Regions from separate parts of the Homo sapiens genome. Here all the other regions are linked to region 3. The links are contacts of gene promoters, found by promoter capture Hi-C in blood cells and fetal thymus (Javierre and others, 2016). All regions are on one chromosome and are shown on one strand. Each heading gives the region's core, a stretch centred on a gene start or on the middle of the fragment in contact. The rest is flanking DNA. Distances are from core to core; before and after follow the strand shown.

Region 1 (2,905 bases), core at 64-2,563, 1.2 Mb after region 3:
AGTCAAAAAGGTGGAATGTTTACAAGACAGGGAAGATATACGGAGAAGTAATATGTTTAATTAAATATGAGAATCTAAAAGAGACTGGGGCACAGGGAATATCTGGGAGGAAAAAATAATGGTTGAGAATTTCTCAATAACAAGTAAAAGAAACCTACAAATCCAGAGCTCCAAAGAGCCTCACGAATCTCAAAATGATAAAGAAAAAGAAGAGGAGAATATTTCAGTTTTAACTAATGACAAATGAAAGCTCTGAAGAATAAAAACATTAGTAAACGTGGGGTAAATTTAAATGAACATTAAGTGTAAAAAGAAATACCTTGTTGAGTTAAAATTAAGCAGAAAGAATAGAATTAAAATATACAAGAACAGTAACATAAATAAGGCTTGGGACAAATAAGAGTTTTAAGATCTATGTATTGTTAAGGAGAAGATACAAGTATTGATGAACTTGAGACTTTGGCAAACATTAATACTTCTGACTTCTAGGGTAACTAGTAAAAGAACAGAACCAGTACACAACTTCCAACATAATGGCAGTAAAAGGGAATATTTACTTCCTCCCCAATAAAAAATCTTAATGAAAGCATGGAAGGGGAAAAAAAAAAAAAATTAAAAGGGATACCCCTGCCCATCTAATTTTTATAAACCTTACATACCAAAATCCAACATGAGAAAATATTACATGCCAATCTTATTCATATAGATGCAAAATTTCTAAATAATTATCTAACAAAATTATGTAGAAATAATATATACAATACAAAATTCACACACGTATATCATGAGCAACTGGTATTAAAAATGCAATATAAGTTTAACATTAGAAAATCTAATATAATTCATGTTTGTAACATTAAAAATGGAAATAAAATATAATATAAAAAAATTTATAGAATACCTATGACAATAGGTAACACATAATGACAAAATACAGAATAAAAAATCCACAAAACATCTATGACAAATACAATCTTAGCAATAAAACACTGTAAGCTTTCCCTTTGGAACAAGACAAAGATGCCTGTCAATCACTTTTATTTAACATTGCTGAAAATGCAAGCTAACACAGTTAAGAAAGCAAAGGAAATAAAAGCTATAAGGACTGCAAAGGAAAAAACAAAACTGTCTTTGTTCTCAGTATACGTACCTGTATTCACTGAAAATCCAAAATAATCTGCAAGTGAACTAGTAAAACGACACTGCTTATATAGAAAGTTCACCCTAAAATTCACATAAAATCTCAAGTGACCTCAAATAAGGAAAATAATTTTAAAAAGAATGAAGTTAGATAACTCACACTTCCAGATTTCAAAACACATTACAAAGGTATAGTAATCAAAGTGGTAGAGTACTGGCATAAACACAGACAAATACACCAATGGCACAAAATAAAGAACACAGAGATAAGCCCTCATGTACGTGGTCAACTCATTTTTAAGAAGGGTGCAAAGACCACTCAATGGGAAAAGGACAGTCTCTTCAACAAATGGTGCTGGAAAAACTGAATATTCACATTCCAAAGAATGAAACTGGACCCTTATCTTATACTATATACAAAAATCAACACAAAATAGATTAAAGACATAAATCTATAAAAGTCTTGGAAGAAAACAGGGGAAAAGCTTCATGACCTTGAACTTGATAATGATTTCTTGGATATGACCCAAAAGTACAGGCAACAAAAACACAATAGACAAATGGGACTTCGTTGAACTTAAAAACTGTACATCCAAGGACACAATCAAAACAGTGAAAAAGCAACCTAAAGGATGAAAGAAAATATTTGCAAATCATATTATCTAATGGGGGTTATAATCCATAACGGAGGTTATAAAGAATTCCCTGAACTTAAAAACAAAAAACTCAAACAATCCAACTAAAAAATGAGCAAAGAGATATCTGTATACCCCTGAACAGCACTACTCAAACAACAGCCAAGAGGGGAAGCAATCCAAATGTCCACTTACAGATGAATGGATAAAGGAAATGAGGTACATAAATAAAATGGATGGAATATTATTTCACCCTTTAATAGGAAAAAATTCTGTCACATGCTATAATGTAGATGAACCTTGAGGACATTATGTTGAGTGAAATAAGCCAATCACAGAAAGACAAATACTGTATGAATCCACTTATATGGGGTATCTGAAGTAGTTGAATTCATAGAAACAGAAAATAGAATAGTGGTTGCCAGGGACTGAGAGAGGGAGAAAAGGGGAATTGGTTAATGGACACAGAGTTCAGGTTTGCAAGACGAAAACATTCGGAAGATCTGTTTCACAACAATGTAACTATACTTACTACTAATGAACTGTGCACTTAAAAACTGTTAAAATGATAAATTTTATGTGCTTTTTATCACAATAAGAAAAAGACATGGTCTCTCCCACAGAGCTTAGAAGTGAAAATAAGGCAAGTAAAAATAGGTAAAATCAAAGCATACTATGATAAATGCCATAACAACAAGAACTTATCAAACAACAGAAGAAATAAATGAATTAACTATTGGTAGAATCAGGACTAAAGTCAGTCTCCTACCTACTCTACTCAACTTTCTTTACTGGTAAAGATACACCAAGATGACACTGTTGTTTAAAATAGAAGTAATTCTATTATCAGGTGCAAAAAGCTACTCTGTTTGGCCCTAAAAAATTGGATAAAGAGAAGAGAAATAGTAAGATAGTCACGATTTCACTTAAGACTAGAAATGCTGAGAAGCAAAAATCTAACGTATTTCCTAATTGCATGGGTATACCTCAAATAAGGAATGTTTAGAATATGAAGTAACTGTAACTCTCATACGCAGCTGATAGAAGGGCAAATTCATAAAACAGTGTGGAAAATTGTATGACAGTATTTACTAAAGCTGAACACACACATACCCTATGATTCACCAATC
Region 2 (2,974 bases), core at 430-2,929, 1.2 Mb after region 3:
TAGCCTGAGCTAGACATTACCTTTCCAAAATGAAAACATTTTAAAATTCTGAAACACATTTGTTCCCACAGGCTTGAATCAGAAATAGTGACCTAGATTATTATCATCCTTTCCATTGATGAAATTTTCCAGATATTTTGCCCACTGAACCAGCTTGAGAGCTGTTATTCTACTCCTTGTAATGATGCCTTTCTTACCTTCCCAGGCTGATATGGGACATGATTATTCTTCCTGTTGTCTGTTATCAGTGAATTATGTCACTTTTCCTGTGTCCTTCTCTCTTATTTATCTTCCTCCATTAAAACACCGTACTCTTTTAGTTTTACTGTCTGTGGACGGCTTAAATGTTAGATAGCTCAGTGGAGGGTCAGTGTGACGACTCTTGCATCTGCACCCAGATCTTTGTCCGGAATCCAGGAGGAATCAGGTCACATGAATGAATCGAAGATCGTAAATGTGGAGGAATTTATTGCCAATAAAAGTGCCTCTCAGTGGGATGGGGAACTGGAAAGGGGATGGAGTGGGAAGGTAGTCTTCTCCTGGAGTTCGGCCGTCCCCAGCCAAACTTTTCTCCAAGGTCCCACTGTCAAGCCGTTCCTCTGAAGTCAAGCTGCTTCTCTCCGACGTTTGGCTGCTTCTCTTCTCTCCTTCTCTGCCACTCTGCCACTCTGCCATTCTGCCGGTGGAGCCTGGGTTTTTTATGAGTACAGGATGGGGGTCAAGGTGGGCCAGGTTGGTTTTAGAAAAGGCAGCATTCAGGGGGGAAACGAGGAATAGATGTTCTCACTTTGGGCAGCAGGTCCAGGCTTGAGGGTGGGGCTTTGCCAGGGACCCCACCCTTTTCTGCCTAGTATTTCCCTAGTATTGCCTCCTGTCTGTATCAGTGCCACTCTTCTGTGTTCCTGCATAAAACTTCCCGCTCCTGGACAAGTTCTGTTTGTATCTGAGCTAGTATAGAAATGTGGGCCTCTGAGGATGTTGGCTTCCCATTTCTTCCTCATTGAATACTTTGTGACTTATTGCCAGAATTTTGAAAACAGCCAGATTGAAAAAAAAAAAAAAAAGTCTGGTGTGATTTTTGCTGTGTCCTGCAGGTCTCTCTTTAGGGATATGTGATGCAACACCAAAGGGAGGCTTAATCAATTTTTTTCTCTCACCCTCCATTCCCTTACCAAAAAAGGAAGCAAGATCTTGAAACACATTGTATTAAACTAGGGGTTTTAAGCCTGTTTGGGAGTGACAGAGCCTTTCATTAAATTGATGAAAGATTCCAAGAAAGATAAGACTTCTGGAAAAAACTTCTACAAAAATAAGAACAAATGGAAATGTTTGCAAAGAATTTCATGTTTCTCAGATACTCTCTGCTAAGCCCAGATTAAGAACTTCCATTCTAGACTGCTGATTCTCAAAGAGGCCCTTGTAACAGTAAGAGAAATCTAACATAACTGACTCCATCTTGTTTCTAACCTCACAAGCTGACTGCCTTTGCTCATCCCTGCATGTAGGCCAAGCTAACTATGGCAGGAATTTAGTTTATAGTTCAAAGCAAGGATGAAAATAGTCCCTTTTGAAAACTAAGCTTAAAGGAGATAAGGAGGGTGTATGCACAAGCAACAATGTTATGCCAAGATTTACAGGAGCACTGTGACCTGACCAAAGACAAATAACTTTTGCAACCTCCTTGGACTCCAGCTGATGCTCGTGTGTCTGTGGTCACGAGTCACCTCCTGACTTTAACGTCCCCTTGTTCCCCCTTCCCCAACATAAAAAGAAGCTTGAGATGTATGCCTTTTAAGATGGTTCTTTAGGACATTAGTCCATCTTCTCGGCTTGCTGGCTTTCCAAAATAATAAGTAAATAGAGTCTCCTAAAAAAATAAACTCTCTTTCCTTGCCCCAACACCTTGTCTCTTGACTAACTGGCTGTTGCGCGGTGAGCAATACCAGCTTTGGATGCGACTACGCCCTGAGAGGTTCCTCAGATCCCTGGGCAGTTAGGTTCAAATTCTATACTATACTCCCCTCCCACGCTGAGACACAGACCTGGCACCATCATCTGGGAAACCTTTTCAATAATGAGAAATGGATTCAACATGTGTCCTCAGTCTCATGTTACTCAAGGGAAATAATTCCCCTGGGTGGGCTATGCCTTTCGTCTGAAATCTTTTTTCTGTAAGAGACAGTTACCATGGAAGAAGGAAATTGTCCTGAGATAAATACCTATCAGGATTAATCTTGTCCTTGATTCAGACTTTTGAACTTAAGCTCCCTGGTCACTTGTATCTTTAGTTTCCTCTCTGTCAATTATTAAATACGATTTAAAACTAAGATCTTCTCATATTTACTTTGGATTTTTTCTATGTGCTCTATGGAGAAAAGCAATGAAGCAAGAGAGGAAGTGACTCACTTCTCTCCACTCCTTACCCAAAAGAAATTTAAAATTCCTAGGGTACCCATAGATTTTAGGAACAGAAGTTAATTCAGTCGATTAGCCCAGAATACAACCAATAAGGATCCCATAAGGATCCACGACCACAGCCAAAGACTGCTCCCCTCGCCCCAGCTAGCCATCATCTCAATCATAAGCCATCATCTCAAACATGGACACAGGGAAGGCTAGAGAGTAATTGGAAGCCTCATACATACCAAACCCCATGAGCAGAAAAACTCAAGATGGTGGCTCAGAAATTACATCTTCGTATGCTGAGAGAAAGCCAAGAGGAGATATAAAAATCTGATGACTTTCACCTTAGGAAAGAAACTGAAACCCATTTGGTCAGTGACCAATTGTCGCTATGAAGCTCACTGCACTTTATGCCTCTGAGCTTCTACAGACTCTTTCTGGACAAAATGTCCTCCTGTTGCCTACTCCTAACTCCTACCCATCCCTGACAATGCTCCTCACCACTGTTTCTGTCACCTGGTAAACTCCTGCTTGTTTTTCAAGACATACCTCAAGAGGCAGTTCCTCTGTG
Region 3 (2,908 bases), core at 313-2,812:
TTTTTTTTTTTGAGATGGAGTCTCGCTCTGTCGCCCAGGCTGGAGTGCAGTGGCGCGATCTCGGCTCACTGCAAGCTCCGCCTCCGAGGTTCACGCCATTCTCCTGCCTCGGCCTCCCCAGCAGCGGGGACTACAGGCGCCCGCCACCACGCCCGGCTAATTTTTTTTTTATTTTTAGTAGAGACGGGGTTTCACCGTGTTAGCCAGGATGGTCTCGATCTCCTGACCTCGTGATCCGCCCTCCTCGACCTCCCAAAGTGCTGGGATTAACGACGTGAGCCACCGCGCCCGGCCGAAGAAGGATTTTTTTAAGGCATCAACCAAAAGCAGAGTATTCTATATATTACGTGGTTACCTTTTTGTGGTCTTTCTAAAAACTCAGGGAAAAAAAACTGCCGTATAATGAATATAATGAGAGTGAATTTCGCTTCTACACATAAGGCTATCCAGTTAAGAACAGGGGAAAAGCCGGGCGCGGTGGCTCACGCCTGTAATCCCAGCACTATGGGAGGCGGAGGCGGGTGGATCACGAGGTCAGGAGATCGAGACCATCCTGGCTAACACAGTGAAACCCCGGCTCTACCAAAAATACAGAAAAATTAGCCGGGCGTGGTCGCGGGCGCCTGTAGTCCCAGCTACTCGGGAGGCTGAGGCAGGAGAATGGCGTGAACCCGGGAGGCGGAGCTTGCAGTGAGCGGAGATCGCGCCACTTCACTCTAGCCTGGGCAGCAGAGCGAGACTCCGTCTCAAATAATAATAATAATAATAATAATAATAATAATAATGGGGGAAAAAATGAAAAATGGAATAAAAGCTCTCCGGCCGTAGATAACAGGCTGAAGTACTGTTCATAGGATAGATCTCTTCGCTATTTTCACCTGGAATTCTCCTCTGTGAACTCTGCAACAGACTTCTGTAGAGAGAACCCCAGATCGGTTGGGTGGTCCTTCTGATGGGTCTGGATAAACCCCTGTACAGCTGACTTAACCAAGAAGGGAAGTACATGTTGGAGCCACACGATGGCGAAAAACAATCACGAAATCCCACGCTGCCGGTAGTTAAAAGTCAGTTTTGGAAATACACAGAAATCCCTTAAAATTCCAGGAGTTCCCACTCTCTTCTCGAATATTTAAGGCCTCCTCCGCACAACATTGGAGTACACGTGTCTAGAAACAAGACAAATCTCCAAGGTCTCTGGGGTGCTTGCTGGGGTGGAGATAAGGGAAAGACCTCTCCCTGAGTCTTAAAGCATCAGTCTGCACTTCTACTCAACAAGTCGGCAGCCAAAAGTGACGACGAGAGAGCGACTCCACGTAGCGGCGCCAGGCGCGAGCCCAAGACAACCAGAGGCGGTCACAAGGTATACGCCCTTCTCCTCTTTCCACGCTTCTCGAGAGGCTCCCGCGGCCAGAACCGGAAAACAAGGAGTAACAGTCGCGTTTCAAATCTCGCAGACCTGCTGGCCGATTTCGAGTCTTCTGAAAGAGGAAGGCGAGCAAAGCCAAAATTCTCCCAGAGCGCGAACCCAAACACAGATCGCCGCTGGGGTCCAAGCGCCCTTCAACTCCGCCCGCTAGTGCCCAAGATTACCGGGAAGGAATTCAACGAATCAGTGGTGAGGTGCCGCCGCCATGCCTACTACGGGCGGAAATTTGAGAGAAAGCTTCGCACCGGTAGGAAAACTGAGGAGCAACCGAGCACGATTGGAAAGGTTGACGATAGTGGTTAAGTGGCTCGGCCTTGCCCTCAGTTAAAATGGCAATTTTAGTTGCTTCACTGATACGGAATCGGCGAGGCGCCAAGGAGGCTTCCTGCGTGGGGCCGCAGAGCGAGTCGGGAAACGATTTTAAACTGAAGAGGCGGCGGAGGGCCGAATTCCCTTTTCTCAACGGCTTGATTTCAGAGCTGGGCTGGTCTCTGACAGGCTCAGCTGGAGAGGGACGGGTTGGGACGCACTGTCCTTTTGCCCTTCCCCCTCCGCGAGCAGAAGCTGACTCCGCAGGAGCGAGGGTCGCAGAGCTGGGTGAGCGGAAATGTCCCTCCCAGAGTGAAGTCGCAGGGCCCGCCCCGCGTCTGAGGGAGCGGAGGTCTTCCTGGGTGCGTTTGTGTCTCTTGTGAACCCACTTGTGGAGCGAGAGGGAATTTGGGAGGGCCAGGGGTTAGTCTGGCCTCTGTCTTAGCTGTCATTTTGGCGGTTTTTTTTTTTTTTCTTCAGGGGATTTCAGTCTCCACATAGTTTTGGAGCCGGACTTTTGAAGAATGATTCGTGAATCCGGAATGGGTGACAGCGTCATCACGGCATTTTATTGGTAAAGATGCTTTGTATTGGTCCCGGACCTGCTTTAACTTTGTATTTGCCCTGTTGTGTGGTCATTATCTTACAATACTTGCGTGTTGAGGTGTGTTTAAACACTACGTGCTTAACACTGGCTAAGTATTGGCATTGGGGCGGTTGGATTTAGGTATTGGTGGCAATGTAGAAAAGTGATCAAGTCAGAGCCCCTTCACGGACTAATCACAAGAGAAACAACAAAGCTTTACTTGTGTGCTGTGAACCACAACTGCAAGTGGAATTGTCAAGAGAACTAGCCCTGCCAAGCTCAGGAAAACTTCTGAGGAGATGGCACATGGAAAATGGATAAGATTTACTGAGACAAACGGGAGTAGAGAAGTGTTTTTAATTGGCGATAAGGTGAATAAAAAGGCAGGGAGAACAGTAGAGTGATCATCTGTCTAGAGTAGGGGGTGCATGTTTGGGTATAGGGCTGTCATTTAACCTCTTAAAGAATTGTCTACTGGAACTTTCTTCACTCCCATCCCCCCACCCCCCAATGTTGTATACAAAACCTTAGAGGAAGTGTATGCAGAATGTTGGATTTTGGAAAGGCTAATGTCGATGGATCTTGGG
Region 4 (3,073 bases), core at 392-2,891, 2.0 Mb after region 3:
AAGGAATATGTACTTTATGAACACTAACATTTCCAAAGGAAATGTGGGAATATTCAGCTCTAAATTCTACACATCACCAAGCACTAACAAAAAAAGAAAAAAGGAACAGAAACAGGAACCTTCTGCATCCCAAGTCACGAATGAGCCAAATAAAAAGAATAAAGTACAATCTCGCCAGCATTTTTTCTTGGATACTGTACATTTCTACCTGGTTTTCTATTACTAGGAAACAGATTTCAGTTTTCATAATGCTTTTAAATGGGCTTTTCTTAGCAAATGTCTGCACTCTTCAGGCAAGGCCATTAAGGTAACTTAATCCCTCATGAATTGCTCAGTGGAAGAAATGCTGATTCCTAATTCGAAAATTAATTCCTTAGCTGTTTCTGTATTAAGAGTCATGAGGAAAACCACAGCTACAATTTAGATTCAGAATGTTGTCTTGAAGGCTAGCAAGACAAATAGGAGCTTAGAGAACGGAAGATGATGCTGGGGGAGGGGGCGCAGAGAGAGTGCGAGAAAGATGCTGGTCAGTTCCGAGATGATGCAGGAATGACATGGCACCTGGACAACATAAGTCCACGTCCACCCCCTGCCAAGTCTGTGCCTCGGGCTCTCTCACAATTGCCTGAAGCTGTGAATAGGTGCACACGCAAACACACCACCTTTTATTCTTCGACTCTCCGGGAGGAGAATGGTGGGGAAGCGTCTCTGGATAAAGCTTCACCACAACAAACGACGTCTTTCTCCTCGCACCCCGCCTCCCCAGCTAGAGGCAGGCAACAGTAGACAGCTGAGAGGAACGAGAACCCTGGCGAGAAGGAAAGCATCTCCACCTAAGGGAGGGGGCTCGGGGGATAAAGCCCCACAGCCTCACAGGGAGCCTCACGGAGGGCGACAGGAAAAGGAGGGGGGTGTTGAGCTGGGAAAACAGGAGAGGGGCACTGGGAAGCTTTCGGCGCGCTACGCAGGGAGGCTGCCCGGGGCTGGCGCGCACCGAGGGGGTGGGGGTCGAGCCCGGGGCGGACCCCTCCCCCGACTCCCCGACTGGAGGACAGGGAGGAAATGGCTTTGTATCGCACGATGAAAGGCAGGCAGGAGGGCCACCAGGCGGGGGGTGGCAGGGGACGGAGGATGCCCAGAGCTGGAGGACCCCGCCCGCCCCACGGACACCGCCACTCTGCCCCCCATTCCACTCTGCCCCCCATTCCACCGCAGCGCCTGGTCCATCCACCCTCTGGCTCCCGCTGCCCGTCCACGTTCCAACGGCCCGCAGCGGGGTCGCCCCACTGCCGCATCCTTACTCCGCGCCCTGCGCGCTTACCTGCCCACGAAGTTCTCGAGCACCGAGCTCTTGCCGGCGCTCTGGCCGCCCACCACGGCGATCTGCGGCAGCTCCAGCAGGCAGCTCTGTCCCAGCGCCGAAAACGCGTCCTGCAGACGGTTCACCAGCGGGATCAGCTCCTCCATCTCCCGGTTCCCCATCTTGCCCGAGGGGCCGGCGACCAGCTGGTCCCTGCTCGCCTCTACGACCTGACAGGGAGTAGGGGCCGCGCTGCCCTGGCTGCTGCTGCTGCGCCGGGCTCAGCCAGCCAGGTCCTGGCGCAGACGTCGGAGCCCGCCGCCAGCCCGCCGCTTGGCTCTGACAGCTAACGACCCGCAGCGCGCCTGCGCGGGCGGGCAGGGGCGTGGCCTATCTCCGCGACGCCCCGCCCCCGCCCCGCGGCTGCCCCGCCCCGGGCTTCCCATCGGACCACCAGGCCAGGCGCGCACGCACTGCAGCCCAGCTGCGGCCAGATGCCACGGCCTCTGCGTTCTGTGGCCAAGGCTCAGAGGCCAAGTTACAGCGCCGGGTCAGGAAATGGCATGAAATCAGCAGCAGCGGCAGCGTTGTTCTCTTTCAGCGGCTACCAAGCCAAAGCCCAGTGGAAAGCACTATCGCCGCTAACACCACCACACGATCACCAGCAACAGCAGCACCGCCGCCGCCACCACCGGGGCACCGCTGCCAGACTACACTTCCCGAAAGGAAATCTCCTCTGTCACGCCCTTCTCCAGAATCCGCGATGACTCCTCCCAGGGTGGCAGGCCTGTTGGAGTCTAAATTCTTCAATGTGACATCCATCTAAGGCCCTGAGTGGTCTGACCTTACTTAATTCTTCATCTGTAATGACTCGTCCTCCCCAGCCCCGCATAAGCACAGGTAGAGTCTGTAGGGTTTACCGCCCCGATACACCCCTTTAATCACTCTGGCCTGTGAGACTCCTCATGCCATTTGCCCTCCCGGTCTATCTCCTTCTACCGGATCTATCCAGAACCAGGTACCCTGGACGCATTCTGTGAAATTTAGCACATTGAGAAGTGACTGTGTGTGGGGTCCTGTGCCTGATGATCGGGACACAAAGATAAATGGCCATGCTTCTCTTAGCCTCCACAGACGGTTCCTTTTTAGTCTGCTCCTCAAATACTGATGCTTCGCAGGGTTTCATATATGGGCATTTTCTTGTCTAATGTTTGTCCTCTGCCTGAGGACTTTCCCATAGCTTTAACTCTGAATCAAGGCTGGCGACTACAGAAATTTACATTGCTAGACCCTGTCTCTCTTCTGCAACTTAGACTGTACTCCAAGAGGAGCCCAGAATACTACCTGAGTGTCCTACAAGTACTACAGACTCAATTTATTCAAAACTGAAGTCATCTTTTGTAATCTCAGCATTTAATGTACAGTTCCTTCTAACTCTAAAAAGACATATTAAAATGTTCATAATGTCAAAAAACCTGAAAACAACCCAAATGTCTATCAACAGGTGAATGAATAAACAAACGTGGTATATATATATAGTGAAATAATCTCTGCCACAAAAAAGACTTTTGATATAGCAACAATCTCAGATACATTATGTAGAATGAAAAAGGCCAAAGACCATATTGGTTTGATTTCATGTATGTGAAGTTCTACAACCAGCAAAGCTATTCTATGGTAATAGAAATCGGAACTGTGGTTGTCTTTGAGGAGTGGAGATTGACTGTAGGAGGCATGAGGAAACTTTCTGGAGTGATGGAAATGTCCCATGTC
Region 5 (2,939 bases), core at 201-2,700, 1.2 Mb after region 3:
ATCTTCATTGTCGGGTACAGTGGCTGTATTTATTGGTGGCACTATTGTTTCAGACAGCTTTGTGAAAATTTGCATGGAGTTCACATCTTCTTTTATAATATTATCCATTAACTCATTAACTTTATTTGTTTCATAGGTAATAGATGGTTTCTCTATAGAACTAAAGCTCTCAGACTTTTGTTCTGTTTCATTATCGATCTCAACAGAACTCTCTTGGGGAATCACTGGTGATGGTATATGTCCTGCCTCATATTCAACAGACTCAGATACTTCTATTTTAGGCAAGGGATTGATTTCTGGGGTAATATCTAAAAGAAGAGACTGAGAAAGAGTTTGAGAATGGCTTGGTTCAAGTTCAACTGCATCTACAGTGTGATTCACCAAGTCATCCTGGTGCATACTACTACTTAAATCACCCAGAACAACAGTTTCAGCTTCCCTTTCTATATTCGTATTTTCCAATTCTCCACTCAGAGGTTGCAATACTGAAACATCTACTGATTCCGCAGGAAGTAGTAAGGGTGGTTGAGCTAACACAAGATAATCTTTTCCTTTACTCAAAGCAGTTCGGCTGCGCTGCCGATAAAGAGCAACTCTAACTGAACACCATTTATATATGTATTCTGAAAAACTAGAAATACAACAAATTGTGGTCAGTTCACTGCAAAATATTTGTGTCTCTGACTCAAACCAGGGTGATGATTCATCTTCCTGTTCACCGCTGCCCAGAAGGGTCACTGTAGATGGACTTGCCTCCTCTTCCTCCTCTTGAACTAACTGTACAATGGGACTCTCTTTTGGAGTATCTGGTGTTGACGGCTCCATGTCATGTGTGTGTACTTCAGTGGTTACATACCTAGAAATACATATATCATAATTATAAATCACTTACTTAGAAGTCTAAAGTTGAAATATGTTAAAGAAAAATAAATGTATCCATACAGAAGATAAAAGGTTGGAAATATAGAAGAAATTTGTTTTTGGATAAATGTTTCACCTACAAAACACTTTTATTATAAAAACAAATACTGCTCAGAAATGATAAGAGAAATACTATTTATCAAGTGACTAGCCAGATGACTCAAACCACCATATTTACCATATCAAACTTGCTTTCTTTTAATCTGTTTAAGAATTGTTTCTAAGTGAATACTTCCATTCACTGAATGTAGTGTTCCTTTCCTCTCATAAATATTCACTGAATCTTTACAAGCTTCACTATCCCTTACACATCAGAAATTAAGCCAACTAAGAGCTAGCTTAATAAACTAGCTTAAATAAGGTCCAGAGCTAAAACTAGAATCTAGGATTCTTAATATTTATGAGTGCACTTTGTACTTGAATACCCTATTTTCAAAAGGCAGCTAGGTTGGTCTCAAACATAATTTTTCTAAGAATGATTTGAGGAACTCCAATACAGCATTAAACACACAACGCACACACACACCTACACACATAGGATTATCTACTTTAAGGACAAGAAACATATCTCCCTTCCTAAAATAATTTTGCTATCATCTAGGCTAATCTTCTAAGCCAAATACCTAACCACTTTAATAACAATTCTGGCTTATGATATGCTAACAGTGCTGCTATTAAACTACTAGTGCCACTATTAATATTCTATCCCATTTTGAGGCTGTGGAGTATGTATGTGGCATACAGGAGAGTGGGGGGATGAAGCTTATGGGGACAGTGTTATAAATTATAATGCTTGTGATTCCTTCCAAGATAAAGATAGTTAATTACTGGGTGTAGCCTTATACATAAAAAGTCCAATATGAAAAAATATGGTAATTTCAATACCAAAAATAATTATGCTCAAACACACATTTTCCCATTCTGAAAAATTACTAAGCATGCCAGGAAATGTCTTCAAATAAAGACTAATGTCACAATAGCAAAGACAGAAGAAAGTAATAAAATAGTATCTATGATGTAGACTTTCATTTTGGTAGTAAAACAGTAAATGGACCAAATTAAAACATAATTAGACTACACTTCGGTAAATAAAAAGATATTTATAGCCATATATATTTAGTCTCTAATAATATTTCTTACATATTCAGGTAATATATTGCTTTTCTACCAAATAATTTATGACAGTAAAAACAAGTAATGTCTGAAGAAGGGGAGAGAGAAAAATTATATTGAATTTGGTAAAAAATACTGAATACAGATGTTATATCCCATCATACACACTGTAATCAGAAATATACTTTAAAAGTTTTTTCTCAAATTCACATGGCAAAACCTACTAAAACCTAGGAAAAGAAAATAAGTTGGCTTTCCGTAACTTTAACAGTGACATCCTATCATGGATTCCTTCATTTTCACATATTTGCTTCAAAAGATTACTTCAAAAGCATTAAAAAGAATTTAAGACAAACATGAAGAAATACTGAATAAGAAATTATGCAAAAATATCTATTAAAAAACTAATATGGAAAAATAAAAACTGCTACGTTAGCCTGTGACTACAGCTTTCAACAAATATTCCTACTTGTGCACATATGTGTATGAAAGTGTGTACATATATATATAAAAAACCAAATCAGTTTTATTTAGTTTTGAAAAATACGACATAGCGTGTTGTTAACTGAAGAAACCTAGTTACAAAATCAGGAACAGCAATCACAGCTCCACATAATTAGAAACACCAAGAATGTCTCTATCCCCAATAGATTTCTTAGGTCCTTTTCAGAATCAATAACACATACGCTATATTTTCTAATTACCCAATAAATATCTCCAGTAACTTTCAGGATTAACACAGGATAATATAATTTTCTCACTATGCCTTTCAAAGCATCAAAATATCATTTTTGAAATAGTATAGTTCTCAGGAATTGCAGTTCAAAGCATACCCACTGCAGGTCTCATTACATACTATCTTGAACTAAGTGGTTCATTTCAAATATCTTATACTCTTTAAGTAG
Region 6 (3,083 bases), core at 173-2,672, 1.3 Mb after region 3:
CGGGGCAGAGGCGCTCCCCACATCTCAGACGATGGGCGGCCGGGCAGAGAAGCTCCTCACTTCATAGATGGGATGGCGGCAGGGAAGAGGCGCTCCTCACTTCCTAGATGGGATGGCGGCCGGGCAGAGACGCTCCTCACTTTCCAGACTGGGCAGCCAGGCAGAGGGGCTCCTCACGTCCCAGACGATGGGCGGCCAGGCAGAGACTCTCCTCACTTCCCAGACGGGGTGGCGGCCGGGCACAGGCTGCAATCTTGGCACTTTGGGAGGCCAAGGCAGGCGGCTGGGAGGTGGAGGTTGTAGCGAGCCGAGATCAGGCCACTGCACTCCAGCCTGGGCACCATTGAGCACTGAGTGAACCAGACTCCGTCTGCAATCCCGGCACCTCGGGAGGCCGAGGCTGGCGGATCACTCGCAGTTAGGAGCTGGAGACCAGCCCGGCCAACACAGCGAAACCCCGTCTCCACCAAAAAAATACGAAAACCAGTCAGGCGTGGTGGCGCGCGCCTGCAATCGCAGGCACTCCGCAGGCTGAGGCAGGAGAATCAGGCAGGGAGGCTGCAGTGTGCCGAGATGGCAGCAGTACCCCCCTTATTCTTACAGTTCCTGAATACCTCTGCCTCATTCATCTGCCACTTCCTATTAATCCTTCAAGATTCAGCTCAGGAATTACCTCTTCCAGGAAGCCTTCTCTCATCTCCTCTTGCAGTTACGCATCATCACTCTTTCAATAACACCCTTTCAACAGTACTTTTTATACCATTTCATAATTGTTTAACCAGATCTGCCATTTTTTGCTTTTTGTGACCTCCTCAAAAGGAAAGGAAGGCATTTTGTCCTCAGTTTTGCATAGTATCAGCACTAATCAATCATAAAAGCTTATTAAATTATTATATGTCAATGTAACCCTAATGTAAAAGCTTAACATAATATGCATATATATGTAGAATGTACTTTTTAAAATTGTGTATAACTCACCAAATTTTAGTGCTGCAAGGATTCAACATGTAAAGATCCATATTTTCTATAAGAATAGCAGATGTGCTCTATTTTAAAAAGAGGAAAGGAAACAAATTACTTAAGGAATAATGAAGAAAGTATTTATTTTAACTTTAAAGTTTTCTGGGACTTCTGTATTTTTAGATCTTAAGTACACCTAAGACTTTAAAACACTCACTTGGGAAAAAAGCATAAAAGTGGCTAAGATTCACCATTCACGGCAACAGCATTAAATTAGTGTTACAATGATACATTTAAAATTCAATGCCTGTTACTTTAAAGAAAAAAATAATATTTTAGTTATTTCCTTTTTAAAATTTCATACGGGTTTTAAAAGTTAAAAAATGCAGGGCAAAATACATCAGCCAATATAAGTAAGAATTCATACAAGATAATGTTTTGAAAAGTATATTCTGCTTTTATTAGTGAATAAGGAAAATATCTCACATTAAAATATAGTTCCCAGTAAACAAATAACCTGTATTTTAAAAAGTCGTTAATTTCCTATATATACAAAATTTTATATTTAAACACCTACCTTGGCTTCTGGATTAGCTGCTAGAATTTTGGCACCACATTCTACTGAGGCATAATTATTTCGATTTTTCTGGACCTTTTTGGTGGCATGTGAACCTCCATTAGAAGATGCATGCATCGACTGACCTGCAGACAAACCGTTATTATAAATATTTATATATATATTTGATGATTATGACTGAAAATACCTCTAGCAACACTGATCTCCAAAGCAATAAGCTGTCTTCTAGAAAAGAATAGGTTTTAACACTTGAGAGAATATTTTAAAAATTCATAAAAAAATCAAAGTGCTCCACCTCAATAGCTTAAAATATCCCCCCAAAACAAATTAACTACAAAATTCTACATTACTTATGTCTAAGTAACATAACTCACAAAATGAAGCTTGTCCATGAGAATCAAAGCTTTCTGTATTTATATCTATTATAAACATCTATTAAGGATGTATTTCTTACATTATTTTATTGTTTTTTTTTTAAGCTCTGGGGTACACACGCAAGATGTGCAGGTTTGTTACATAGGTAAACATGTGCCATGGTGGTGTGCTGCACCTAATAACCCATCACACAGGGAATAAATTATAATTTTAGTCACCCTCCTCTGCCTCATAACATAAGCAAGCTTTTCTTTAGGTATGTTCTTGAAACATCATATGTAAAACACCTTTTGGTAAGTTAAAGAATATTTTAAACCCAAGGATTTTATGCAAGTTCTTTTTGAGTTCCATATGAATTTTAAAATAGTTTCCATGCCTCAATTTTCCTCGTATTGTGATGAAAATCACTGCTATGCCTTATTTTATGCTCACTTAATAATTTACAAGAATGGATTTTAATTAAAACTAAAACTGTATGTAATTATATACAGGTACATGATGGATGGATGGATCAACAGCAACTTGGTTAAGTTTCACCTTTAAAAAGTTTTCAAAAGTAAATTTTATTTTGTTTTACCAATCAAAAAAAGAAAGCATATTAAACTACACCATATACTTAAAAAAAAAATTTAAAGAACTCAAATACTTCCTTACTTTTTTCTTTTTCTACTTCCATAACTTTCTTCTTCCATTCATCAAATGTTGGTATATCTTCTGGATCTTTGGGACTTGCTACTGATGTAGGGTCAATGTCTCCTGGTTTTGTATAATCAGAGCTCTGAAAGAAACACCAAAAAGTAAGAAGACTTCAACTTTCAAATAATACAAATAAATTTTAGAAATAAATACAAATGTTTCTGTCAAATTAAAGTTCCAATTTATAATGAATGATTATATTTTGAAAAAATAAAAAACGTAAAAAGAAAGGTTTTGGTTTACTTAAAAGTTGAATTTCTCTTGAGATAATTTAAACATTCTTTTTAGGATGTGTTCCTTCACTTGTTAAGTGATATAAGCATAGGTCGTTGAAAAAAATAATTTATAAAACTCTAAAGCAAACAATTACTCATATATAGCCTGTACAAATGAATAAATTGTATACTTGCCATGCATCCACCTTAAAATATAAGTTAATACATCCATTAAAGGAAGCTAGATAATTTTAGATGTT
Region 7 (3,163 bases), core at 627-3,126, 1.3 Mb after region 3:
ATGCAAGTACAAATAATTTTACTTTTTTCTTTCTCTTTCATTCCTTCCTTGACTGCCTGCCTGCCTTCCTCCCTTCCTTCCTTCCTTCTCCTGCAGTTGGAGCTTTATTAATACCCCCGTGGTAGGCTTTCCATTCACCTAATTATCATCCAATTATTAGCTTTTACTATTTCAATCTATAAATGTTCTTTTCTCTTTTTGCAGCTTCATTTCCATGGTTTCATGTTAAGGTTTAATCCTTCACTACTCCGAGCTTTTTCCATTTTTCTCTTGAGCAATTTTAATTTTCAACTATACTGTTGACTCCTAAACCTATATCCCATCCTCTTTTCAAGTAGTTGCTGGACATATTATTCTATCACTTCCAATTTTACCTGCACAAAATTGAACTCATTTTCCCCATAAATTAGCTTCTTCACGTGACTTTCTATATTTGTGTTGATTCTTTCCTATTCTAAGACTTCAGATGAAATAAATAGAAGTTCCATAGAGCTGACCTTTAAAGAACTGGTAGACATTTTTCCACATATCTGTTAAATATAATGAGAAAAAGAACAGAGAAAATTTTCTTACAACTCAATAGACAAGTATAAGAAAGTGAGTAATAGTTATATAAAATAAAACTAGTATAGATGAATGTCACCATACTTAAAAGTATAACATATGCCAAAAATGGCAAGAAAGAATATAGAAAAAGAGCATGTATAATGTATAATCTTTCATATATAATATTTAATTATATATATAATCTTTTAAGGCTTAGGCTAAGTAACCACTATCAACCACCCCTTAACTATAATACAGTAATTCTCAACCTGGGGCAGACTTCCCCCCAGGGTGAGATTGGCATTGTGTGAACACATTTTTTGCTTGTCACATTGGAGAAGTACTACTGGCATCTAGTGAGTAGAGGCCAGGGATGCTGTTTCACATCCTACGGTGCACAAGAAAGCCCTCCACAACAAAAATTATTTGGCCAAAAAGTCAAAAGTGCCAAGGTTGAGAAACCCTGCTGTAACAGAATCTCCCAATTCAATAAAATCTATAAAGCACTGACCACACACAGGATAACTCGTTTGCCCTGCAGATCCTTGGATTATTCAGCAAGTCACTAGGGCCTAAACTGCACAATGAACATGAGTTCTCCCATTCCTAAAAGGGTGACTAAACCAGAAACTCTGGGCAGCTCAAGTCCCTGCCTTGATAAAGATCAGATACTCTGTTTGCTTATGGTAAAAGAGAACAAGCAGACCTTAGAAAAGGAACCAACCCCTTCTGGCTATCTCGTTTGTTCTTTATCTCATATACAAATCATATTTAAGACACCCAAGAGAACTGTGTTGTCTAAGATGGTGGTATTTCATGAGCAAGCTTTTATGTATTTTGATTTAGTTGAAAAATTACCTGCTCCTTTCAATATTACAAAATGCTGAGATCCTATATGTCTCCAAAGGATCTTAGAGACCAATGACATTTAGATGCTTCCAGAGTAAAAGTCAGTTAAAACAGAAGTTTCCTGGAAATCAGTCAAAGAAAGGTTGGGGAATGGAAAACAGACAAATGGACAATAAAAGAGACTAAATAAGATGGAAAAATGGTGAATGTGGCAATCAGCACTTAACATTTTAACCGCATAAAAAGTATAAACAGAACTTTTAAAACTGTCCCCCCGATCATCTTCTTTATATATATAAATATGTGTGTAGAATAGCATATACCTTCTTTATTTAGTTACTACCTACCTGAAAAGAGCCTTAACTACTTAGCCTAATCTACCTTAACAGAGCACTGGTAATTTGGCCACTTCAGGAGGTAAAGGTAGAAATCAGAAGAAGACATAGATTGCTTTATTAGTACAGTCTGAGAACTCAGTCTCTTGAGGGCGGGAAGATCTGAGGGCGGGAAGATCACAGAGTGCAATGTTGGCATGCACGGTTCTGTTTTTACTGCAAATAACAAAAGGTAAGATTTCCCTTTTTAAAAATTCTACTTTGTGATCCCAAATTCAGTCTTCTATCACTGCGTTAACATATGTTTATTTTGAAGATACATGAATTGAATAGGCTCATAATGGAATCAACTAGAGGAAGGGAATGATTACATGTGGGTGACAGAGAAGGAGACATCAAAGATGGTCCAATTTCTAAGAACGTATGTGCCATTATATGAGTAGGAAAGTCAGGAGTTGCAGATTTACAATTTAAGAGACTAGTATGGTTTTGGAAGCACAGTATTGAGGTTCTGGTGGAAGTATCTAGCAAGAATTTACAAGTACAAGATTCAAAATAGGGAGAGAAAGTAGCAACTGAAGCAGCATGTTGGGGATTGTAACTGATGCGTCCTTTAGTACCTCCTGTATAACGCTCTCAGATGAAGCTTCCTAAAACATTATCTTCATCATGTCCTTTCTTTGATGCAAAAATCTCCTACAGGTCTGACGTATTTGTGAAATAAAGTCCTGCCTCCTTGGCCTGGCATTCAAAGCTTTCCATAATCAAACCCAGTTGATGTAGTTCAAGCTTTATTTCCCACTGTTTTCTTTCATAACTCAACCTTCTCACCAGACCACACTGTTTATTATGACCTGAAACACCTGTGCCTGCCCTCATGACACTGTTTTTATTTAATAGTCATTTGTCTCCCCAAGCAGTGAATAAATTCCTTATTGCAGAGAGGTCATGTGTTTTATTGATATATATCACACAGTGACTTTTTTTATTACAGAGGCCCAAGAAATAATTTTTTACTTTTTACTTATTTCTTTGTCTAATCACCTTAAATTACAATTTGCCTTATAATTTAAATTCCTAGAAGTAGCAAGCCCTTAGGATGAGAACGTTTTATGCAGTTGACTAGTCTAGAGCACCTAGCCAACTATTTCTTTCTCTATAAATTACCAAATTAGCTTTTTAGCATAACATTATTTGACTTATGTCTGAATAGATTTTCCTAGGTTCTAGTTACCCTAAGTAACCTGGAGAAATAAAGTGTTCAGTAAATATTTATTGAGCCTTTTTTGTATTAAAGATGCTGAGACAGAAATTTGCTCCAGGAAAAGTTTAGCGTTCTAGCAGGGAGTCTTAATCTTCTGAACTGAACCCTTTTGGTAGTCTGGTAAAACCCTTTTCAGAATGTTTATAAAGGTATAAAATAAAACACATAG

Evidence for each region. Contacts are between HindIII fragments. The CHiCAGO score rates a contact against its expected background, and 5 or more counts as called.
Region 1: a fragment that was not itself captured here is called in contact with the fragment with the promoter of DARS2 in region 3 in 1 of 17 cell types (naive CD4 T cells); the score reaches 5.2 in naive CD4 T cells.
Region 2: a contact is called between a fragment that was not itself captured here and the fragment with the promoter of DARS2 in region 3, in 1 of 17 cell types (naive CD8 T cells). The highest score is 5.1, in naive CD8 T cells.
Region 4: a contact is called between the fragment with the promoter of DNM3 here and the fragment with the promoter of DARS2 in region 3, in 4 of 17 cell types (non-activated CD4 T cells, activated CD4 T cells, fetal thymus and 1 more). The highest score is 8.6, in non-activated CD4 T cells.
Region 5: a contact is called between a fragment that was not itself captured here and the fragment with the promoter of DARS2 in region 3, in 1 of 17 cell types (naive B cells). The highest score is 5.4, in naive B cells.
Region 6: a fragment that was not itself captured here is called in contact with the fragment with the promoter of DARS2 in region 3 in 3 of 17 cell types (total CD4 T cells, naive CD8 T cells and total CD8 T cells); the score reaches 6.5 in total CD4 T cells.
Region 7: a contact is called between a fragment that was not itself captured here and the fragment with the promoter of DARS2 in region 3, in 8 of 17 cell types (fetal thymus, naive CD8 T cells, naive CD4 T cells and 5 more). The highest score is 10.1, in fetal thymus.

Annotation. Positions count from the first base shown.
Region 1 is chr1:172,603,987-172,606,891 of GRCh38, reverse strand. All of the region lies in intron 22 of SUCO (SUN domain containing ossification factor), which reads right to left. Among named protein-coding and RNA genes, the nearest start is that of FASLG, 54 kb to the left of the region's middle. The HindIII fragment of the contact is 629 bases long and covers 999-1,627 here.
Region 2 is chr1:172,629,645-172,632,618 of GRCh38, reverse strand. No RefSeq gene overlaps it. Among named protein-coding and RNA genes, the nearest start is that of FASLG, 28 kb to the left of the region's middle. The HindIII fragment of the contact is 195 bases long and covers 1,582-1,776 here.
Region 3 is chr1:173,823,327-173,826,234 of GRCh38, reverse strand. DARS2 (aspartyl-tRNA synthetase 2, mitochondrial) reads right to left here and starts at 1,562. Exons shown (of 17, transcript NM_018122.5): 1 at 879-1,562. The coding sequence starts at 1,005. CENPL (centromere protein L) reads left to right here and starts at 1,352. Exons shown (of 6, transcript NM_001387287.1): 1 at 1,352-2,023; 2 at 2,216-2,309. RefSeq lists enhancers at 1-180, 822-1,339, 1,046-1,605, 1,340-1,858, 1,836-2,075. The HindIII fragment of the contact is 2,471 bases long and covers 1-1,665 here.
Region 4 is chr1:171,840,066-171,843,138 of GRCh38, reverse strand. It overlaps DNM3 (dynamin 3), which reads right to left and starts at 1,641. Exons shown (of 21, transcript NM_015569.5): 1 at 1,322-1,641. The coding sequence starts at 1,482. RefSeq lists an enhancer at 1,217-1,396 and a silencer at 1,597-1,826. The HindIII fragment of the contact is 4,190 bases long and covers 952-3,073 here.
Region 5 is chr1:172,586,677-172,589,615 of GRCh38, reverse strand. SUCO (SUN domain containing ossification factor) reads right to left here. Exons shown (of 24, transcript NM_014283.5): 18 at 1-856. Among named protein-coding and RNA genes, the nearest start is that of SUCO, 55 kb to the right of the region's middle. The HindIII fragment of the contact is 470 bases long and covers 1,216-1,685 here.
Region 6 is chr1:172,568,626-172,571,708 of GRCh38, reverse strand. SUCO (SUN domain containing ossification factor) reads right to left here. Exons shown (of 24, transcript NM_014283.5): 7 at 2,567-2,690; 8 at 1,538-1,662; 9 at 979-1,046. Among named protein-coding and RNA genes, the nearest start is that of SUCO, 37 kb to the right of the region's middle. RefSeq lists an enhancer at 1-922. The HindIII fragment of the contact is 1,000 bases long and covers 923-1,922 here.
Region 7 is chr1:172,528,251-172,531,413 of GRCh38, reverse strand. No RefSeq gene overlaps it. Among named protein-coding and RNA genes, the nearest start is that of SUCO, 3.3 kb to the left of the region's middle. The HindIII fragment of the contact is 1,005 bases long and covers 1,374-2,378 here.